7 separate regions of the Homo sapiens genome follow, and all the other regions are linked to region 1. Evidence: promoter capture Hi-C in 16 types of primary human blood cells and fetal thymus (Javierre and others, 2016). All regions are on one chromosome and are shown on one strand. The core of a region is centred on a gene start or on the middle of the fragment in contact, and the rest is flanking DNA. Distances in the headings are between cores, read along the strand shown.

Region 1 (2,730 bases), core at 60-2,559:
GACACCAGCTTGAAAGGGACGTGGGGCGTCAGGGAGCAGGTGACATGTCCATTCGTACCAGAGTCGCGATCCGACACCGTGATGAGAGCAATGACAGTGCCCAGGGAAGCGTTCTCTGAGATGGGAAGTGAGAGAGACGTTATTGAGACTTCTGGTGTGTTATCATTGATGTCCACAAGTTTTAATGAAATTTTACAATGTCCTGACATTGAAGGGGTTCCTTTGTCAGTTGCAGTGACCTGAATCTCGTAGGACTTTGCTTCTTCATAATCTAATTTTCCCTTAGTTCTGATTTCCCCTGAGATGGGATCTATGGTAAACTTAGTCTGTATAGTGGAGGACACATCACTACCGAGTGAATACACAATCTCGCTGTTCGGTCCTTCATCTGCATCAGAAGCGTTTAACTTAACCACTAAGGTCCCATTTGCCGTATTCTCTAACAATTTTACTTTGTAAACTGATTGGGCAAAAGTTGGTTCATTGTCATTTACATCTAATACCTTAATAAGTATTTGAACGGTGCCCGTGAGCTCAGGTTTGCCCCCATCAGTAGCCACCAGTAACAAATTAACCTCAGCAGTTTCCTCTCTGTCCAGCGATTTCCCCAGCACGAGAGACAAAGATTCGCTTAGTTCATCATTTGCCTGTATATCTAGGAAGAAAAACTCACTGGAGCTGAGCTTGTAGGAGAGAAGAGCATTTACTCCTATATCTGCATCAGATGCTCCCTCTAGAGGAAACCGAGAATCAAGCAGCCTTGATTCGGGAAACCGGATAGTCTTTACTGTCATTGGAAATATTGGCGGGTTGTCGTTAATGTCCTTCACCTCCACTTCCACATGGAAAACCTGCAGCGGCCTGTCCACGATCACCTCCACGTGGATGCTACATTCCGCGCTCCGCCCGCACAGCTCCTCCCGGTCGATCCGAGAATTCACAAACAAAATGCCATTCTGCAGATTTACCTCCAGAAGGTCCCCGTGTCTTTTGGACGCCACCCGGAACAGGCGCGGCACCAGCTCCTCCAGCTCCAGCCCCAGGTCCTGCGCGATGCGGCCCACGAAGGTGCCGTGTTTGGCCTCCTCGGGGACGGAGTAGCGGAGCTGGCCGCTCCCCACCTCCCAGGCTGCGAGGAGCAGAAGCGAGAGCAGCCGTGTCCAGGCCCCTCGGCCCCTTCTGATAGAAGACGCCATTACCAATCCTCAATGTTTTGATCAAATTAGAAGAGCATGTTTTGCAAAAATTTAAATATTCTAGTCTCTGTTAAAGTCCTGCTGCTTCTCTTATTCCTCCGCTTCTCTGAAGTAACAAAGGGGCTCTGGGTATTTTCCTTCCTAGAGAACACTCTATGGTGGACAGCGACATCATGTGGCTAAAAGGAAGGCTCTACTGTTTATTCTGTAGATTTAAAACTAGTCGATTTTCTGGTTTAAGTTTACTCATAGCTTTCATCTTGGAAAAAAATAACTATTTTAAGCCCTAAAATATATTACCTTTTTACCCTTTTTTACTCTGGTTAAAAAACACACAACATAATATTTAAAATTACCATATTAACTATGATTAAATGTACATTTCAGTAATGTTAAGTATATTCACATTGTTACAAATTTTTCATCTTGGAAAACAGAAACTCTATACCCATTAGACAACAACTCCGCTTTTCACCGTCACTCCAGTCTCTGGTAACCACAGTCCTATTTTCTATTTCTATGAATTTCACTACTTTAGATATTTCGTGTAAGTGGACTCGTAAAGTATTTGTCTTTTTGTGACTGGCCTATTTCACTTAGCACAATGTCCTCAAGGTTCATCCATGTTGTAGCATGTGACAAGATTTATTTCCTTTTTAAGGCTGAATACTAGTCCATCGTATGTATACACCACGTTTTGTTTATTCATTCAAGCATCCGTGGATGGTTCCTCAAGGTTCATCCATATTGTAACATGTGACAGGACTTCTTTCCTTTTTAAGGCTGAATAATAGTCCAACATATGTATACACCACGTTTTGTTTATTCATTCAAGTATTCGTGGACATTTGAGTTGCTTCCATTTCTTGACTGTTGTGAACAGTGCTGCCATGAACATGGGTGTGCATATATTTCTTTGAGACCCTGCTTTCAATTCTTTTGGATATATTAGCATTTTTCACTATTTCTTCAAATGAAGAACATAGTAATCAAAGGTATTTTAGTCCATTGAAAATATATGTGTATATATACTGTTGTTTTGTGATTTAATTTTGATTTTTGAATTGTTTGCAAATGTTTTGAAATTAATAATTTATTTGTTTCTCATTTGGATAATGTACTATTACTTTAGAATATTCCTTTTCCATTACATTTAGACTTTTATGCAAGAACAATACAATCGATCTCTTTTTTTGTGTTAATTACTTGAGAATATCTTCTTTTGTTAATTTTTAGCTGATCCCTTCACAGTAAAAAAATGAAAATAGAATAAAGATAAGATGAGGATGAAATAAAATGAATCAAGGAGTGGGATAGCATACAAAATCCATAATAAAGGGTCACCTTCAGTTACTCTAACCATGTCACCAATTTTGTTTTCAGCTTCCTAGAGCAAAGAGAGAAGTAAAATTAATTGCAAAATTTGCAATGTCCGTAAGAGAAAAGCAAAGCTCTTGTTAAGAAAAGCTAGCTTTTTTTCCAATAACAATTTTTTTCCCTCATGTACAGTATCTTAAGATACTCATTTGTACCA
Region 2 (2,700 bases), core at 65-2,564, 760 kb before region 1:
TGGGGGCTGGAACCCAAGCATTGATAAGGTTGTATATTAGGTGCTTTAGTATCTGGATGATTAATTAGTGCACCATTCCTGTAAGAAGGCTGGGAAGGCAGCAAATGGGAGCATTCTATGGGTTCTACATTTGACTGCCTGTCTTTACTGCTGGTTGTCAGTGGGAGTTCTTCCTAACCCACCGTCAAAGTTGAACCAGGCCTACCTGTCTAAGGATATGAAAATAAAATAGGTGGTGCCCAGAGCCATATCTGTCTTACCTTTCTCACAGTTTCCTGTTTGGTGACAGTTTTTAAAATTTACACATAGTTACATTATCACACTATGTTAACAAATCAAACTGTTTTAATTTGTTCATATTCACTTGTAGTCTTTGCCTGTGCTGTATATATAGCATTTACATGGTTGTAATCAGAGGGGGACGTGTGTGTGTATCTTAGTTCTTCTTTATTTCAGGTCGAAGTGTACAACTCATTATGCAGCATTAAATTTCAAAAAATTTAAAAGGAAATTTACATTCATGTAATCAGGGTCTGAGACCAAGATGCCCTTTGTTATGTACCCCCCTTCCAGTTACAACTGAACCTCCACCCCCAACTCAGAGTACCCACCATCCTGAAGGGTTTTGCCTGTAGCTTTTGGTATATATACACATTGTCAAAGAAGTTTCTTCGATTTCTAATATGCTAAGACTATTTATTCTGAATGGATATTAAATTTGGTCAGGTTTTTTTTTGTATTGTTGAGATGATCATATAATTTTCTACTTTAATCTGTAATTGTGGGAAGCATATTAACTGATTTCTGTTACACCGATTTTGCATTCCTAAAACAAATCTAACTTGAATGTGATCTGTTATTATTTTTATTTTATACCCCTTAATTCACTTTGCTATTAGGAATTTTGTGCCTGTGTTTATGAGTGAAAGTACCTATGATTTTTTTGATACTGTTCTTTCACATTTTGATAGTGAAGTTATGCTAGCCTCACAACATGAGTTGAGAAAATATACTTCTATTCTGTGGAAAAATTTTTTGCGTAAAATTGGTGGAATTATTTATTCCTTGAGTGTTTGAAATAATAGCTGGTAAAGTCATCTGGGTCTCTGAAGAAATTTTTGATCACCGATTTAGTTCTTTTATGGTTATAGGACTGGTTTTTTCTTATTGGATAAGTTTTGATGTGTTATGTTTTTCTAGAAATTTATCAATTTTATCTAAATTTGCAGACATATTTTGTATGATATTATTCCTTTTTTTGGGGGGAGCGGGTGGGGATGGAGTTTTGCTCTTGTTGCCCAGGCTGGAGTGCGGTGGCACAATCTCGGCTCACTGCAACCTCTGCCTCTCAGGTTCAAGCGATTCTCCTGCCTCAGCCTCCCGAGTAGCTGGGATTACAAGCATGCACTACCATGCCTGGCTAATTTTGTATTTTGGTAGAGATGGGGTTTCACCATGTTGGTGAGGCTGATCTCAAACTCTTGGCTTCAGGTGATCTGCCCGCCTCAGCCTCCCAAAGTACTGGGATTACAGGCATGAGCCACCGCGCCCTGCCTGATATTATTCCTCTTAATGCTTGAGCCTGAGCCATATTTAGTTCAGTCCTGTATTTTGTTCCTGATGTTAGTTACTTATGCCTGATTTCTCTGTTTTTCTTTCTTGTTTTAAAATACTGAATTTAACTGGTCTTAAAAAAAATGTTTTAAGCCAAAACTGTTGGCTTCGTGAATCCCCTCTGCTACAGATTTCACTAATTTCTGTTCTTGTCTCTATCTTTAAATTTTTCTTTTGGTTTATTTTATTATTCTTATTCTAATTTTTTTAAATAGGTACTTACCTCTTTAGTTTTTAGTCTTTTTTCCCTGTCATATATGCATTTGAGACGATGTTTTCTTGGGGGGTTTTTTTGAGATAGAGTTTTGCTCTTGTTGCCCAGGCTGGAGTGCAGTGGTGTGATCTTGGCTCACCGCAACCTCTGCCTCCTGGGTACAAGCGATTCTCCTGCCTCAGCCTCCTGAGTAGCTGGAATTACATAGGCGCCCACCACCACGCCTGGCTAATTTTTTGTATTTTTAGTAGAGTTGGGGTTTCGCCATGTTGGGCAGGCCGGTCTCGAACTCCTGACCTCAGGTGATCCACCTGCCTTGACCTCCCAAAGTGCTGGGATTACAGGCGTGAGCCACCATGCCCGGCCGAGACTGTTTTTGTTTAAATTATTGTTTGGGACACATCTCTTAAGTTGTTTTTTTGAGACAGGGTCAAAAAAAAAAGACAGCCTGTCACCCAGGCTGGAGTGCAGTGGTGCGATCTTGGCTCACTGCAACCTCCACCTCCTGGGTTCAAGCAATTCTTCTGCCTCAGCTTCCCAGGTAGCTGGGGTTACAGGCGTGTGCCATGACACCCAGCTAATTTTTGTATCTTTAGTAGAGACAGGGTTTTTTCACCGTGTTGGCTAGGCTGGTCTTGAACTCCTAACCTTAAGTGATAGGCCCGCGTCAGCCTCCCAAAGTGCTGGGATTACAGGTGTGAGCCACCATGCCTGGCTCACATCCCTTAAGTCTTGATAGGAAGTGTATTCGTTTGCTAGGGCTGCCGTAAGAGAGTGCCACAGACTGAGTAGCTTAAACAACAGAAATTTATTTCTCACAGTTCTGGAGGCTTGAAGTCCAAGATCAAGGTGTTAGCAAGTTTCATTTCTTC
Region 3 (2,700 bases), core at 84-2,583, 570 kb before region 1:
GGAAGATTTCAAAATAAACTTGGCATTTCCCAACACTTGGCAGTAAACTTCTCCATTTTCTCCAGAGTCTCTGTCTCTCGTTTTTATCAAGGCGATCACTGTTCCTGGTGGCGAATCCTCCGGTAGGGGAGTAGATACTGAAGTCACAATAACTTCAGGTGCACAATCGTTGTCATCAAGAATTTCAACTTGGATACTGCAGTGGGCTGCTAGATCTCCAGGATCTTTTGCTTCGATACTCAGAGTGTAACTACTTGCAATCTCAAAATCCAAATCATCCTTTGTCGTGATTTCTCCTGTTTTTTCATTTAAGTTGAAAAAGTGTTTCACTTGTTCGTCCACATTATGAAAGGAGTAGGTGATCTCTGCGTTTATGCCTTCATCCCGGTCGGTGGCTGTCACTTGAAGCACAAAGAAGCCCGGCGGCACGTCCTCCCTCAGGGTGACCCTGTACACGTCCTGGCTGAACACTGGAGGGTTATCGTTGGCATCCGTGACTTTGATTCGGATTTGGGTCGTGCCACTTTGAGGTGGGTCTCCGCCATCCACAGCTGTGAGGACCAATTGATGTAAACTGTGCTCTTCTCTGTCCAGAGAGTGTTTTAGAATCAACTCAGGATATTTACGACCATCTGGAGTCTGTTTCTCAGCGAGATCAAAGTACTCGTTGTCATTAAGGTGGTATCTTTGTAGTGAGTTAGGACCAACATCTGAATCCAGGGCTGGGTCAAGTGGAAATGTTGTACCTGGCTTAGTGGATTCGCCAATTTTTAAATTAATCTTAGTCTGTTTGAATAGCGGGGTATTATCATTTATATCCTGCACAATTACTGCTATGTAGAAAATATTTAGTGGATTTTCAGCGACAGTATCGAAATCCAGAACACACAGAGGCTGCTTCCCGCATATCTGTTCTCGGTCTATTCTGTCACTCACAAGTAAGTCTCCGCTTTCTGGGTTTACTGTGAAATATTCCTTCTCCGCGCTAACCCGCAGCTTCCGGGCTGGCAAGTCCCGGACGCTGAGCCCCAGATCCTTGGCGAGGTTTCCTACGACCGAGTTTTTGGCCAGCTCCTCTGGAATTGAATAGCGGATCTGGACTGGGAGAGCCCCGGGGAACAAAGACAACAGGAAGGGCAACAGTACCTGCAGCCACCGCACCAGCCCGCACCTCCCTGAGCTCGCTTTCATCTTCTGGCTCCCTTTGCTCCTTTGCCCATAGGAGGAATAAGCCTTCCGGGGATGGCAGAATCCGGGCTAAGGTCACTTTTCCTGCTTTTGTTTTCTGTTTCCGAATCTATACTGGCCTTCTCTGTGTGGTTGGTTTGTGCAGGAAGTTCCCCTCTAAGAGGCTCCCAAACGCTTCTCTTCGTTCTTTTGACCAACAGCGACGCTCAGAGGTTTTCTCAGGAAACTGCACTAATGGCTTGTCAATATTTGCTAAGAACTTTTTTCTTTTCTTTTCTTTTTTAATTTATAAAGTCTTCATTTGTTTTAAAATATGTGAAATATTCATATAGTTCCAAATTCAAAAGATGCATTCAGCATAGGTTCTTCCTTTCATCTCTGCTTTAGATGAGGAGAAATGCTTTCACAGGGGAAATGAGTGTTAAAGTTTCTTAGGTATCCTTCCGGAGATATGTCTTGTATAGGGCAACGGATTTTTATAAATATTCTGTCTCCTTCTTTACACAAATGTAAGCATACAACATACCATATTCTGCACATTGCTTTTTTAGTTGTTATATCTTAAAGATCATATCAGTACATAGAGAGCTTTCCTATTTATTTCTTATAGTTATCTAGTGGCCCATAATATAGTTATCTAGTAGTCCGTAATATGAATATACAACAATTTGTTTAATCAAAATTGTTATTTGCTAAAAGAAACCCACTGCCCATTCTAACAAAAACACATTTTTTAAAAAATTTGATTTTAGGTTATAAATTATCTACTGCTTTCCTAGGCCTTTAAAACATGTGGCACTCTCATTCTGGAATATATTCCTAATGCCAACACCTGAATATGCTTGACACAGTTTCAGACCAATTGAGCATTTCCAAATTATATTTTATGGCTTAATTACTTTAAACAATCTCTCCTCAGATGTAAGTTGTCTCTCAACATTCACTTGTTATTTCTGCTTTCTGCTCCCCAAGCCAGGTAACTGCATCATATCATATTCCAGCTTACTCTATGTATTGCACCACAACTTTCTATGAATACAAAACCATGTAGAAACTAAAACTCTCCTTTGTAAGTCAAATTGAGGCATATTCCACAGTCTATCACTACAACTTCCAGTTATCAAATTACACTAATTTGTGTAAGCATATGCATTCATGAATTTTGAATTCTCACAGAACCTAAATGAAAGCACAAAGAACAAAAGTGTTGTATATCCCCTACACACAAAATATTTTCCCTCATATAAAATAATCCCAGAGCCACATGATGACAGAAATATCTGAAAGCAATTTGTAGCAATAGGGATGAGGCCACCTTACTAAGCAGCGTAAATCATATCAGTCCAGAACCCAAGTAACTCAACCTTTGAAAGAGGCTCACATGATGACAAGAGAAAAGACTCCAAAAACTTATATTTTCCTTGGAAATCAAGAAAGTCTCAATAGTGATGTCATGATAAGCAATTTAAAAATTATTAAAGTTACTCCTAGAATCTACTTATATATGACTGA
Region 4 (2,700 bases), core at 74-2,573, 590 kb before region 1:
TCTCCATTGTGTCTGGAATCCTTGTCACGGACTTTGAGCAAAGCAATATGTGTTCCCAGCTCGGCGTCCTCCATAATTAGGTTGGGTAGAGACTGGAATATCACTTCTGGGGCGTTGTCATTTTCATCTATGACTTCTACCTCCACTGTGCATTGCGCAATCATTCCTCCACCGTCCCTTGCTTCCAAAACTATGGAATATTCTTTGACTTCTTCAAAATCTAATGTATTTAAAACAGTAATTTCCCCGGTGTTAGAGTTCAGGTCAAATTGGGTGATCTGGCTAGCTTCACTGAAAGAGAAAGTAATCTCGGCATTGACACCCTCATCCTGGTCCGTGGCAGTCACCTGTAGCACCGTGGTCCCCGGGTACACGTTTTCTGAAAGGCTCACCCTGTATACGTCTTGACTGAACACTGGAGCATTATCATTGGCATCAGTCACTAGAACGTGTATCTGTGCAGTGCTGCTTAGGGGTGGAGCTCCAAAGTCCAAGGCAGTCAAAGTCAAGTGGTAGGATTTCTGCTTTTCTCTGTCCAAAGGTGTCTTCAATACCATCTCAGGGTATTTACTGCCATCTGATTTCTCTTTATTTATCAGTGAGAAATGATCACTGGGACTGAGTTGGTAATTCTGCAGTGTGTTGCTACCAATATCCGCATCATGGGCAGATCCTAATATAAATCGTGTGCCAGGCTGTGCAGACTCACTTATTTGCAGCTCAAAGGAATTTTGCGTGAATTTTGGCGTGTGGTCATTAATGTCCTCGATCTCCACATTCACGTGATAAAAGTTCAGTGGATTTTCAGCAACAGCCTCAAATTCCAGAGCACAAGCTGGCTTCTTCCCGCATATCTCCTCCCTGTCTAGCCTGCTGCTCACAAGCAACTCCCCGCTCTCTGCGCTCACGGTGAAGTAAGGCTTCTCCGAACTGACGCGCAGTTTTCGAGTCGGTAACTCCTGGACGCTGAACCCCAGGTCCGTGGCGAGGTTCCCCACTACGGAGCCCTTGGGCATTTCCTCGGGAATCCTGTAGCGGATCTGCTCACAGAGCGCCGGGCAGAACAAAGACAGCAGGAAGAGAAAGAGCACTGGCAGCCTCTCAGCCCGGCCCAGCTCCCCGGCGCCGCTCCCCATCCCTCTTGCTCTCCTCAGCTTGCTCACCAGCCTGGAGACGCCGGGTTACAAATAACCTCTGTATTGCAGATTTTTGGATCTCCGAACGGACTTTAGTTGCAGTTCCAGTTCAAGAAAAAATTCTTCTTTTTCCGAGGAGGAAGCGGTGTAAAGGCTGGCGCTGGGGAGTCTGAGCTGGGGCTGCCCTGGAAAGCGCGCTGCGGCTGCGCGAGGAGATCTGGAGCGCCAAGCTCTCCACTTTGGCCAACAGCGGCGCCCAGAGTCAGCACTAGGAAACTACAGCCTCTGCTGCTTCAAGTTAACCAGTGCAATAATTATAATTGTGTGCCTAACTGAAAGAACAAAAACTACGTGGATACGTCTGTATATTTAATGACGTCTAAAAATGTACTCTTAGGAATGCCTTCATCCCAACTTTGAGGATTTTTAGGCAAATCATGTAGATTAAGTACATAAACATTTATTGACATAAGCTTTCCCCAATCTTCAAACATGCACTATCTATATAAAGATAGCCATAACACAGACTTGGCCTAAACCGTCTCAGAGTACAGTAATTTTCCATACTTACTCATTAGAAATATACTGGATACATTTTATCTTTCTTTCATTGTTCCTAACATTTTCTCCACTTTTCTAAGTACCTCCAAGTTGATTTATTTCAACTTTTTCCGGAGAGTATCAGTAATACCAAAATTGCCTTTTAGAAGGTGCAATTTATACTTATCTTCAAATACACCCCCTTCCCAATAGTTTCAGTGATTTCATTACAGGAATATTATGTGATTCTCATTTCGATGATCACAGGCAGTAGCCTACTCCTCTCCTCATTACACAATTATTTTACTGGTTATGAAATACAACATTCATCTTCAAAGTTATCAGGGGGATAATACATAGCCTCAAAACACAAAGTCACTGAGATCTGCTGCACTGAAGCACTGCTTCCTACCTCTGCACTTATTTTACATTCCTTGGTGACCTCTGAATTGAAGGAAACAATCCCTGGAAAGTTTGATTGCAATAGCTCACTGAGTTTAGTGATTATGTCTCTCCATTGCTTAAAAACAATTTTATGCATCTAATAAATTTTGGTCAGGAGATTTTCTTTTACAAAATACCTTATAACCGTAGTTCTGCCATAGGATCTTCCCTCAGTAACATTGTTGGTGTCAGCAACATTGTCTTCTACCCCAAGTGATTGTACATCTGAAATGTGAACACTGCAGAACTTGTAAAATGTATCCAGCCTGGGTGACAGAGCGAGACTCCATGTCAAAAAAAAAAAATGTATCCCCCACACTATTGTACAGAGTCTATCATGTGCAAAATACTACCAAATACAACACTAGTCTAAAAAGAGTCTTTTTTTGAAGAGACAGAGTCTTGTTATATTATCTAGGTGGGCCTCCAATTCTTGGGTTCAAGCTGTCCTCTTGCCTCAGCCTCCCATGCAGGTGGGCTACAGCTTGCAACACCATACCTGGCTAAAAGTGTGTTTTTAATTAATACTCAAAGGTCTCTGGAATCAAGATTACCTTGTCATCCACCCCTTCTGGATGAC
Region 5 (2,711 bases), core at 129-2,628, 650 kb before region 1:
TATAATTTATATACAGTCACATGCAAGACTCTTAAGTTCAATGAGTTTTGGAAAATGTGTACATCCTTATAACCCATCCCTCTATCAAGATATGGAACAGTTCTAACTTCCTGGGGGGGAAAATTCTACCATCATTCATACTGTTGGTTTCAACTTTAAAATGCTAAGGACTCTATAGGATGTTTAAGGTATGTGTGGACATAGAATCCTCCAAGTGTACTCATAACATTAAAACCCAACAATTTTGTTATGATTGTTATGCATCTTTTATCCTAAACATTCCTTCTATGCAGTTTTACAGATGGTGAAGAAAAACTGAGGTTAAAAATTTCCTCCGGGTGCGGTGGCTCACGCCTGTAATCCCAGCACTTTGGGAGGCCGAGGTGGGCAGATCACCAGGGTCAGGAGTTTGAGACCAGCCTGACCAATATGATGAAACCCGTCTCTACTAAAAATACAAAAATTAGCCGGGTGTGGTGGCATGTGCCTGTAGTCCCAGCTACTTGGGAGGCTGAGACAGAAGAATCACTTGAACCCGGGAGGCGGAGGTTGCAGTGAGCCGAGATCAAGCCATTGCACTCCAGCCTGCGCGACAAGAGCAAGACCCCGCTTAAACAAAAACAAAAACAAAAAACAAACAAACAAAAAAATCCATGGAGCACATATAATCATGTGAAAGAAAATTAAACAACAAAAATTAAAACAGCCTGACACATTTTAATAGAATTCCAGACACAGAAAAAAAACAAAACAAAACTGAACACTAGGACTAGTCTGAAGAGTGGAGTATGAATTAGACAGCAAATTTCCCTGGGTGCTGGATGTTTCTTACAGTGAAAAAGAGATCAGGAAGATAAATAAAACACAAAAGTAGCTCAGCCATGAACCCCAAAACATACCAGTGTAGAGCTATCAGGAAGCTTATTATGCTCAGCCTTATAAGGATCTACCCATCTGACTAGATGATCACAATGGAAGAACTCAGAGTAAAAGAATGGTAACCGGCTGGGCGCGGTGGCTCACGCCTGTAATCCCCACACTTTGGGAGGCCGAGGCGGGCAGATCAGAGTTCGAGACCAGCCTGGCCAATATGGTGAAATGCTGTCTTGTACTAAAAATACAAAAATTAGCCAGGCGTGGTGGTGCACGCCTGTAGTCCCAGCTACTCAGGAGGCTGAGGCAGAAGAATCACTTGAACCTGGGAGGCAGAGATTGCAGTGAGCAGAGATAGGGCCACTGCACTCCAGCCTGGGTGACAGAGCGAGACTCCATCTCAAAAAAAAAAAAGAATGATGACCATATGTCTAATCACACACTGAATATCTGCACTGTTTCTCAGATCCTTCAAATGAACATGGCTGGAACTCAACTCGATTTCTCTTAAATCTATCATTCTTTAGTCTTCCATTCTCATCAAATGGTAGCTTTGTCCATCCAGTTCCTTAATGTGGAAACCCAGGAATCACTCTTAATCCCTGCTCCCCATTTATCCATTGTATTTATTCAGTTAATAATATTTCACTGAAGATCTACCACTTGCCAGGCAACACAACAATATTTTCAGACACCTAGGAATATAATAATAAACAAAACACCCCCTGCCCTCATGAAATTTATATTCCACCTATTCCATTATTAAGTCTTATTGAACCCATTTCCTAAATATATCTATAATTCATCCATTTATTTCTACATCCACTGCCTCCCCTTTAATCCAAGCCAGCTCTTCTTCCATTTCTTACCAGGAATATTGCCATAGTCTCCTATCTTATCTTCCTATTTCTATTTATAACCCTCATAAATCAATTCTCCATATAGCAGCCAGAGTAAGCTTAATAATTCAAATATCTTGTCACTGCCTTGTTTAAAATATTTTAATAGCTCCTAAGTACAAGGGTATTTAGAACAAAATCCAGAATTTTAAGTGTGATTTACAAGGCTCTCCCTGCCTTATTAGTTTCATCTATTTATTTTCTGTTTCTAGCCTCCCTAGCCCTTTTAAATTGCTTGAGTCACACCTTTTATTTTTTAAAAAGATCTTTACACATGCTATTTCCTCTGCCTGACAATTTCTTTTTTACTTTCCTTGTTACCTAGATAACTTCTACTCATCCTATTAATCTATTCATCTCTCTAAATATCACTTTCCGAAAAAAAGAAAGCCTTCCTTGACCTTCAGATTAGGCGAAGCTTCCCTACTATAAGCTTTCTCTTAGTGCTTTTGTATTTCTCCTTGTTGGCTTTTATCAGACCTGTAAAATATCATGTATTAGAATAGGGCCCATTAACTCAGGAATCATATATGCCTTGTTCATTGCTGCATCCTTAGTCCATAGGTCAGTGCCTTGCATATAGCAGACAGTTAATAAATATTTGTTATGTAAATGAATGAATGAACCACCCAGGACCAGACTTGGGCAGACACCAATGTTTACTGTTTCTGGATGGGTTCTCTCAACCTACAAACTGAAGAGAATGGAAGCCTGAACTTATGCAGAGTGGTTTCGACTTATATTCTCACACAATATAGTGTAAGAATAGAGCACTTTGCACCTCTTACTTTTCAAAAGCATATAGAATACATAAAAACATAGTTTTTCATTTTTCTGTAAACTAGAAATGAACAATTAGAAGATACAATTTTAAAAATACTATTTACAATAACATTAGAAAACATCAAATATGTAGGGACAATTTAATGAGAAATATAC
Region 6 (2,700 bases), core at 1-2,500, 630 kb before region 1:
CCAAGAAACATCACAGGAAAAAAATTTATTCCTCAATTAAAATATCTCAATGACAGCAGTATCATAATACCCACTTTTCACACGTGTGTGTGTGTGTGTGTGTGTGTGTGTGTGTGTGTATAAACAATGTCTCCGGGCCGGGTGCAGTGGCTCACGCCTATAATCCCAGCACTTTGGGAGGCCGAGGCGGGCAGATCACGAGGTCAGGAAATCGAGACCATCCTGGCTAACACGGTGAAACCCCGTCTGTACTAAAAATGCAAAAAATTAGCCGGGCGTGGTGGCGGGCGCCTGTAGTCCCAGCTACCCGGGAGGCTGAGGCGGGAGAATGGCCAGAACCCGGAAGGCAGAGCTTGCAGTGAGCCGAGATCATGCCACTGCACTCCAGCCTGGACCACAGAGCGAGACTCCGTCCAAAAAAAAAAAAAGTCTCCCGTAAAAATGGTGAAAATGTTTCAAAAATACATGAAAGCTAATAATGAAGTTACTGGCCCACACAGAAAGGAACAGGAAATATTAAGAGTGGGCAAACAAACCTGAAGCAATAGTAGATATAATATGTTTAAGATTTTCTTGCCAAAATATTGGTTTGAAAATTAAACCTCATCCATTTGTAAATGAAAGACATTCATTGGAACTCACGTGAGTAGGAGCAACAGAGTTAGAGCTTATCTTGTTATTCTCTTCAGTGAAGCTTGCTACCAGAGAAACTTCATTAGAAAGATCTTGTGGGGGGACTGTTTCTGGTGTCATGGTGAGAAAATTAAATCTTCTTTTTCTAGAATCCGAGGGAACATACAGATTGCAGGAATAAAGCAAAGTTCCCTCATTGTAGTTGGGAAAAACCCCTGGTCTAGTCTTAGAACAGAGACCAGGGTGAAAGCAACCCCAGGCAGAGGGGCTGGAAGAGCATCGCAGGTGCAAGGCGACCGCCAAAATCACTGCGAGGAAGAAGAGCATAGAAATCAAGGCCAAGGCCACGACCAGGTAAATCTGCAGCTTTGCTTGGGAATCAGAGGGCACAGGACTGTCACTGAAGTCTGGCAGTGCCTCCTGCAGGCTGTCTGCGAAGACTAGGTGAAGCGTAGCGGCGCAGAGAGCGGCGGCTGTCCTCCGTCACGCACAGCAACCAGCAGGTTCCCGTGTGCAGCCCCAGGCTGAAAAGCCCGGGCTCGATGGCCTGCAGCACGTGGTAGGACAGCCAAGCGTTGTGTCCCGAATCTGCGTCCACCGCCACCACCTTGGTCACCAGGTAGCCGGACTCTGCGGCGCGTGGCACTATATCGAAGAGTGCGGAGCCATCGGGCCCCAGCGCGGGGTACAGCACCCGCGGCACATTGTCATTGAGGTCGCCCACCAACATGCGCCGGCTCATGTTGGCGCTGAGCGCGGGCGAGCCCTGGTCGTGGGCCTGCATCGTGAGCTCGAAGGCGCACAGCTGCTCGTGGTCGAAGGCACGCTGCGCGACCACCACCCCGCTCTGTGCGCTCACGGACACGTAGGACGACAGTGCCCGCAGCTCCAAGTCAGTGGTAACGATGGAGTAGGAGACTTGGCCATTCAGCCCTAGGTCCAGGTCAGAGGCGCTGACTTGTGGGATGGAGGCTCCGGGAAGGTTGTTTTCGGCCACGTGGACCACGTAGGAGACTTGGTGGAAAACCGGAGCATTGTCGTTGACTTCACCAATGCGTAGGGTGAGGCTTGTGCTGGATGAGAGCGGAGGCTTGCCCTTGTCAGTGGCAGTGATGGTGACGTTGTACTCCGGGATCCGCTCCCAATCCAGGGTCCCATCTGTTACAAGCTTATAGTCATTATTGGCGGAAGATTCGATTCTAAAAGGAACTCTTTCGTTTATGAGGCATGTAACCTCCCCATTTTCTCTCGAATCTTTATCATGTGTTTTGAACAGAGTGATCACCGTCCAGGGTTCTGCGTCCTCAGTTACAGAACTGGACACTGAAGTAAAAACCACGTCTGGGGCATTGTCATTCTCATCTAGGATTTCTAGTATAATTTTACATTCGCTGGTCATGCCTCCACCATCCTTAGCTTCTACTCTCATGGTATAACTGCTACGAAATTCGAAGTCTATTAAGTCTTTGGATTTAATTTCCCCATTTTGATGGTCTAGCACAAACATATTTCCAATATCATCTCGTAGGGATTTGAAAGAGTAGGTGATCTCCGCATTGACACCCTCATCCTGGTCAGTGGCTGTCACCTTTAGTACAGAGGTGCCTGGGGGCACATTCTCTCTAAGGCTGACTTTGTATACATCCTGGCTAAAAACTGGGGCATTATCGTTGGCATCAGTGACCTCAATTTGAATTGCAGCAGTGCCAGTTGGGACTGGGTCACCCATGTCCATTGCTTCCAGGACCAGGAGATGAGAGCTCTGTTGCTCCTGGCCCAGGGGCTTCTCCAGCACTAATTCTGGAGCGTTCTTGCCTTTAGTCTTGTCCATCATCAGAGAGAAATGTTCATTAGAACTGAGCTGGTAACTCTGGAGAGAGTGAGGCCCTACATCTGCATCTATAGCAGATTCCAGGCCAAACCGAATGCCTGGAATTGCTAGTTCATTGATTTGTAAAACAATGCTATTTTGGGGAAAATGAGGTGGGTTATCATTTATATCTTCTATCATCACATTTATGTGAAAAACATTTAGAGGATTCTCTGCTACAATCTCTAAGGGTATGA
Region 7 (2,700 bases), core at 16-2,515, 610 kb before region 1:
TTTGCTCTCACCATAATATTATAGTAGATATTTCTATGCTTTGTGTTTTAAATAAATCTATTATGCACAATTTCAAACTTATACAACAGTAGGGAGTATATATAGTGAACCTTCACATAGCCATCACCCCACCTTCAACAATGATCACCACAAAGCCAATCTTTGTTTAATATATACTGCGCTCCCCCATTATTTTTAAGTAATACGAGATATAGAATGTCAACCAATGCTTCTTTTTAAGATGAGACATTAAGGTCAAGAATTTTATCTTTCAGCTTATGTTCTACAATCTGTTACCAATGCACAATAAGTTAAGTCCTACATAGCCTAAGAAAAACAGAAATAAAGATTTTCCATACTCCATTCAGTCATCTGTCTGGTGAGCCTCGTGTTCTGGTTTTAAGGGCAAGAGACATTTTTGTGGTATCGAATAGTAACTACCTACCATGACATACAAGCCTTCATGGATATCTGTTATGTTTTCCCCAAATTAACATACATTTCAATATTTATAAATACTAAGTATGAAGGCTACTCCTCAGAACAGAAATTGTAACAATTTTCTTGTTGCATGGTTAAAAATATGAGCCTGAAGTATGCTTTATTTTTTTTGCTACCCACTTAAGGGGGAAAACGTGTTTGAAATAATTAAAATGTCTGTATGTCATAAAGGATTCCCAGACACTTCAGCTTTTTTTTCTTAAAAATAAAGCAACTGAAACCCAAATAATTACAAACAAATAAAACAATTCTTCATTTCCACAGAAATGCCAGCAGTCATCAGTGTATCTATGGATCACATGTTTAGCATAGAATTTTGAGTCAACTTCAAAGCTTATTTTCAAATGTCTTGTGAAATGTTATTTACTATTTGAAACAACACTATGTTTAAAATAACATTAAATAATACATTATTCTCTTCCTTATAGCTAAAAACAGTAAAATAGTTTTAGAATCTTCCCAGCAGTTCCTGAGAATATTTTCTTAAATTATATCTGATATGCAAGTTCATTTCTAGACTCAAAAGTTGGAGAATTGAGCCAGAAATAATATATAAGTGAGAGAAATATTTTTAATTCCTTGTTTTGTCATTTCACAGTGTCCAGTCTTAGAAACTTCTCTTGAGCAAGCATATACTATAGAAAAGAAGAATGTCCTACTATTCTCCATAATTTAACATTAAAGCATTAGGAAATTAAGACCTTTGAAGATATGAGAATAAAAGATGTGACAACTTTCACCATTAAAGGGAAAAAATTGGTTTACTAGGGTTTGGAAGTGGATAACTGAAGTTTGAATCTTCGTCAGAAAATATCTGTAAACACAAACAGACTTTACACACTTGTGATCTGAAAAATATAACCTCAAAGAGGTGTTTTCCTGTCATAGAAATGGAAGAATAGAAGCAATAAATCTGGGCTTTCAGCTGTTTCTCTAAGAAGAATACATTTACCTTTTTATCAGTTTACCCTTACAAACATAGTATGACCTGAATAAATGATCGTAGGAGTAAGAATTTGCTGGGTGAGGTGGTTCACACCTCACCCAGTGCTTTGGGAAACTGAAGCAGGAAGATCGTTTGAGACCAGTCTGGGCAACATAGCTTGCTAGCCCTCCCACCTCAGTCCTAGCTACTGTGAAGGCTGAGGTGGGAGGATTGCATAAGCCCAGGAGATTGAGACTGCAGTAAGCTTTACCCACACCACTGCATTCCACCCTGGACAACAGAATGACACCCCCATCTCTTAAAAAAAAAAAAAAAGGAGTAAGAATTTTATGATATGAGTCCACTGCAACCAATGAAGCAACCCTACCCAAAAAGCCCACATCAATGCAGGCTGAGAGCTACCCCATGAAGTATGGTTTACGTTGACAGCAGGTTAATTATTATGAGAACATGAAAGTTATATCAGCAAATATAACTAATAAATGCCTCCTTTCAGTGTTGGAGCAACAATTAGGCCCAGTGAAAAGTGATGAGAAACACACTGATATCAACTTATACTACCTTAAGTACAGACAGTTAAAGAGAAAGCTAACTATAATAGAAAGTTAAGGGCCAGGCGCAGTGGCTCACGCCTGTAATCCCAGTGCTTTGGGAGGCTGAGGTGGGTGGATCACTTGAGGTTAGGAATTCAAGACCAGCCTGGCCAACATGGTGACACCCCGTCTCTACTAAAAACACACAAAAAATTAGCCGGGCGTGGTGGCACGTGCCTGTAGTCCCAGTTATTCTACTTGGGAGGCCTGTAGTCCCAGCTACTCTACTCTAGTCCCAGCTACTCTACTTGGGAGGCTGAGGCAGGAGAATCGCTTGAATTTGGGAGGCGGAGGTTGCAATGAGCCGAGATCACACCACTGCATTCCAGCCTGGGTAACAGAGTAAGACTCTGTCTCAAAAACAAAACAAAACAAAAAACAAAAAAAGAAAAGAAAGAAAGAAAAAAAATGAACTCACCGGAACCAAAGGGGTGTCTTCTATAGGAAACTTGGAATCAACAGAGACGCACAAAGGCTCATTTTTCTCACAGCTCTGCTGGCTGATGAGTGTGTCTGCATAGTTGGGCTGGGGGAAGATCAGGTGACTCTTCCTTGAGTCAGCGGTGAGGGAGAACTCCTGAGAATAGGTCTGTAGGAAAGCTCGAACCCCATCTACACCCACAAAGTGTGAGGTGGGCACACCAGCCAACCCATCACTGG

What was found. Contacts are between HindIII fragments. The CHiCAGO score rates a contact against its expected background, and 5 or more counts as called.
Region 2: a contact is called between a fragment that was not itself captured here and the fragment with the promoter of PCDHA2 in region 1, in 1 of 17 cell types (M1 macrophages). The highest score is 6.8, in M1 macrophages.
Region 3: the fragment with the promoter of PCDHGB2 here is called in contact with the fragment with the promoter of PCDHA2 in region 1 in 6 of 17 cell types (M0 macrophages, neutrophils, M1 macrophages and 3 more); the score reaches 10.2 in M0 macrophages.
Region 4: the fragment with the promoter of PCDHGB4 here is called in contact with the fragment with the promoter of PCDHA2 in region 1 in 10 of 17 cell types (M1 macrophages, erythroblasts, M2 macrophages and 7 more); the score reaches 15.8 in M1 macrophages.
Region 5: a contact is called between a fragment that was not itself captured here and the fragment with the promoter of PCDHA2 in region 1, in 1 of 17 cell types (erythroblasts). The highest score is 6.5, in erythroblasts.
Region 6: a fragment that was not itself captured here is called in contact with the fragment with the promoter of PCDHA2 in region 1 in 4 of 17 cell types (erythroblasts, fetal thymus, M1 macrophages and 1 more); the score reaches 8.4 in erythroblasts.
Region 7: a fragment that was not itself captured here is called in contact with the fragment with the promoter of PCDHA2 in region 1 in 6 of 17 cell types (erythroblasts, M1 macrophages, naive B cells and 3 more); the score reaches 8.5 in erythroblasts.

Annotation. Positions count from the first base shown.
Region 1 is chr5:140,793,431-140,796,160 of GRCh38, reverse strand. It overlaps PCDHA2 (protocadherin alpha 2), which reads right to left and starts at 1,309. Exons shown (of 4, transcript NM_018905.3): 1 at 1-1,309. The coding sequence starts at 1,196. All of the region lies in intron 1 of PCDHA1 (protocadherin alpha 1), which reads right to left. It also overlaps PCDHA@. The HindIII fragment of the contact is 8,329 bases long and covers 1-2,730 here.
Region 2 is chr5:141,552,852-141,555,551 of GRCh38, reverse strand. The region is part of intron 18 of DIAPH1 (diaphanous related formin 1); the gene reads left to right. Among named protein-coding and RNA genes, the nearest start is that of DIAPH1-AS1, 4.1 kb to the left of the region's middle. The HindIII fragment of the contact is 4,317 bases long and covers 1-2,700 here.
Region 3 is chr5:141,358,627-141,361,326 of GRCh38, reverse strand. It overlaps PCDHGB2 (protocadherin gamma subfamily B, 2), which reads right to left and starts at 1,333. Exons shown (of 4, transcript NM_018923.3): 1 at 1-1,333. The coding sequence starts at 1,191. All of the region lies in intron 1 of PCDHGA1 (protocadherin gamma subfamily A, 1), which reads right to left. All of the region lies in intron 1 of PCDHGA2 (protocadherin gamma subfamily A, 2), which reads right to left. The region is part of intron 1 of PCDHGA3 (protocadherin gamma subfamily A, 3); the gene reads right to left. It also overlaps PCDHGB1, PCDHGA4 and PCDHG@. The HindIII fragment of the contact is 22,324 bases long and covers 1-2,700 here.
Region 4 is chr5:141,386,321-141,389,020 of GRCh38, reverse strand. It overlaps PCDHGB4 (protocadherin gamma subfamily B, 4), which reads right to left and starts at 1,323. Exons shown (of 4, transcript NM_003736.4): 1 at 1-1,323. The coding sequence starts at 1,136. The region is part of intron 1 of PCDHGA1 (protocadherin gamma subfamily A, 1); the gene reads right to left. All of the region lies in intron 1 of PCDHGA2 (protocadherin gamma subfamily A, 2), which reads right to left. The region is part of intron 1 of PCDHGA3 (protocadherin gamma subfamily A, 3); the gene reads right to left. It also overlaps PCDHGB1, PCDHGA4, PCDHGB2, PCDHGA5, PCDHGB3 and PCDHGA6, and 2 more genes. The HindIII fragment of the contact is 3,088 bases long and covers 1-1,611 here.
Region 5 is chr5:141,445,059-141,447,769 of GRCh38, reverse strand. All of the region lies in intron 1 of PCDHGA1 (protocadherin gamma subfamily A, 1), which reads right to left. The region is part of intron 1 of PCDHGA2 (protocadherin gamma subfamily A, 2); the gene reads right to left. All of the region lies in intron 1 of PCDHGA3 (protocadherin gamma subfamily A, 3), which reads right to left. The region is part of intron 1 of PCDHGB1 (protocadherin gamma subfamily B, 1); the gene reads right to left. It also overlaps PCDHGA4, PCDHGB2, PCDHGA5, PCDHGB3, PCDHGA6 and PCDHGA7, and 10 more genes. Among named protein-coding and RNA genes, the nearest start is that of PCDHGA12, 16 kb to the right of the region's middle. The HindIII fragment of the contact is 911 bases long and covers 923-1,833 here.
Region 6 is chr5:141,426,589-141,429,288 of GRCh38, reverse strand. The region is part of intron 1 of PCDHGA1 (protocadherin gamma subfamily A, 1); the gene reads right to left. The region is part of intron 1 of PCDHGA2 (protocadherin gamma subfamily A, 2); the gene reads right to left. The region is part of intron 1 of PCDHGA3 (protocadherin gamma subfamily A, 3); the gene reads right to left. All of the region lies in intron 1 of PCDHGB1 (protocadherin gamma subfamily B, 1), which reads right to left. It also overlaps PCDHGA4, PCDHGB2, PCDHGA5, PCDHGB3, PCDHGA6 and PCDHGA7, and 10 more genes. Among named protein-coding and RNA genes, the nearest start is that of PCDHGA12, 2.6 kb to the left of the region's middle. The HindIII fragment of the contact is 1,107 bases long and covers 697-1,803 here.
Region 7 is chr5:141,405,135-141,407,834 of GRCh38, reverse strand. The region is part of intron 1 of PCDHGA1 (protocadherin gamma subfamily A, 1); the gene reads right to left. All of the region lies in intron 1 of PCDHGA2 (protocadherin gamma subfamily A, 2), which reads right to left. The region is part of intron 1 of PCDHGA3 (protocadherin gamma subfamily A, 3); the gene reads right to left. All of the region lies in intron 1 of PCDHGB1 (protocadherin gamma subfamily B, 1), which reads right to left. It also overlaps PCDHGA4, PCDHGB2, PCDHGA5, PCDHGB3, PCDHGA6 and PCDHGA7, and 5 more genes. Among named protein-coding and RNA genes, the nearest start is that of PCDHGB6, 1.5 kb to the left of the region's middle. The HindIII fragment of the contact is 857 bases long and covers 837-1,693 here.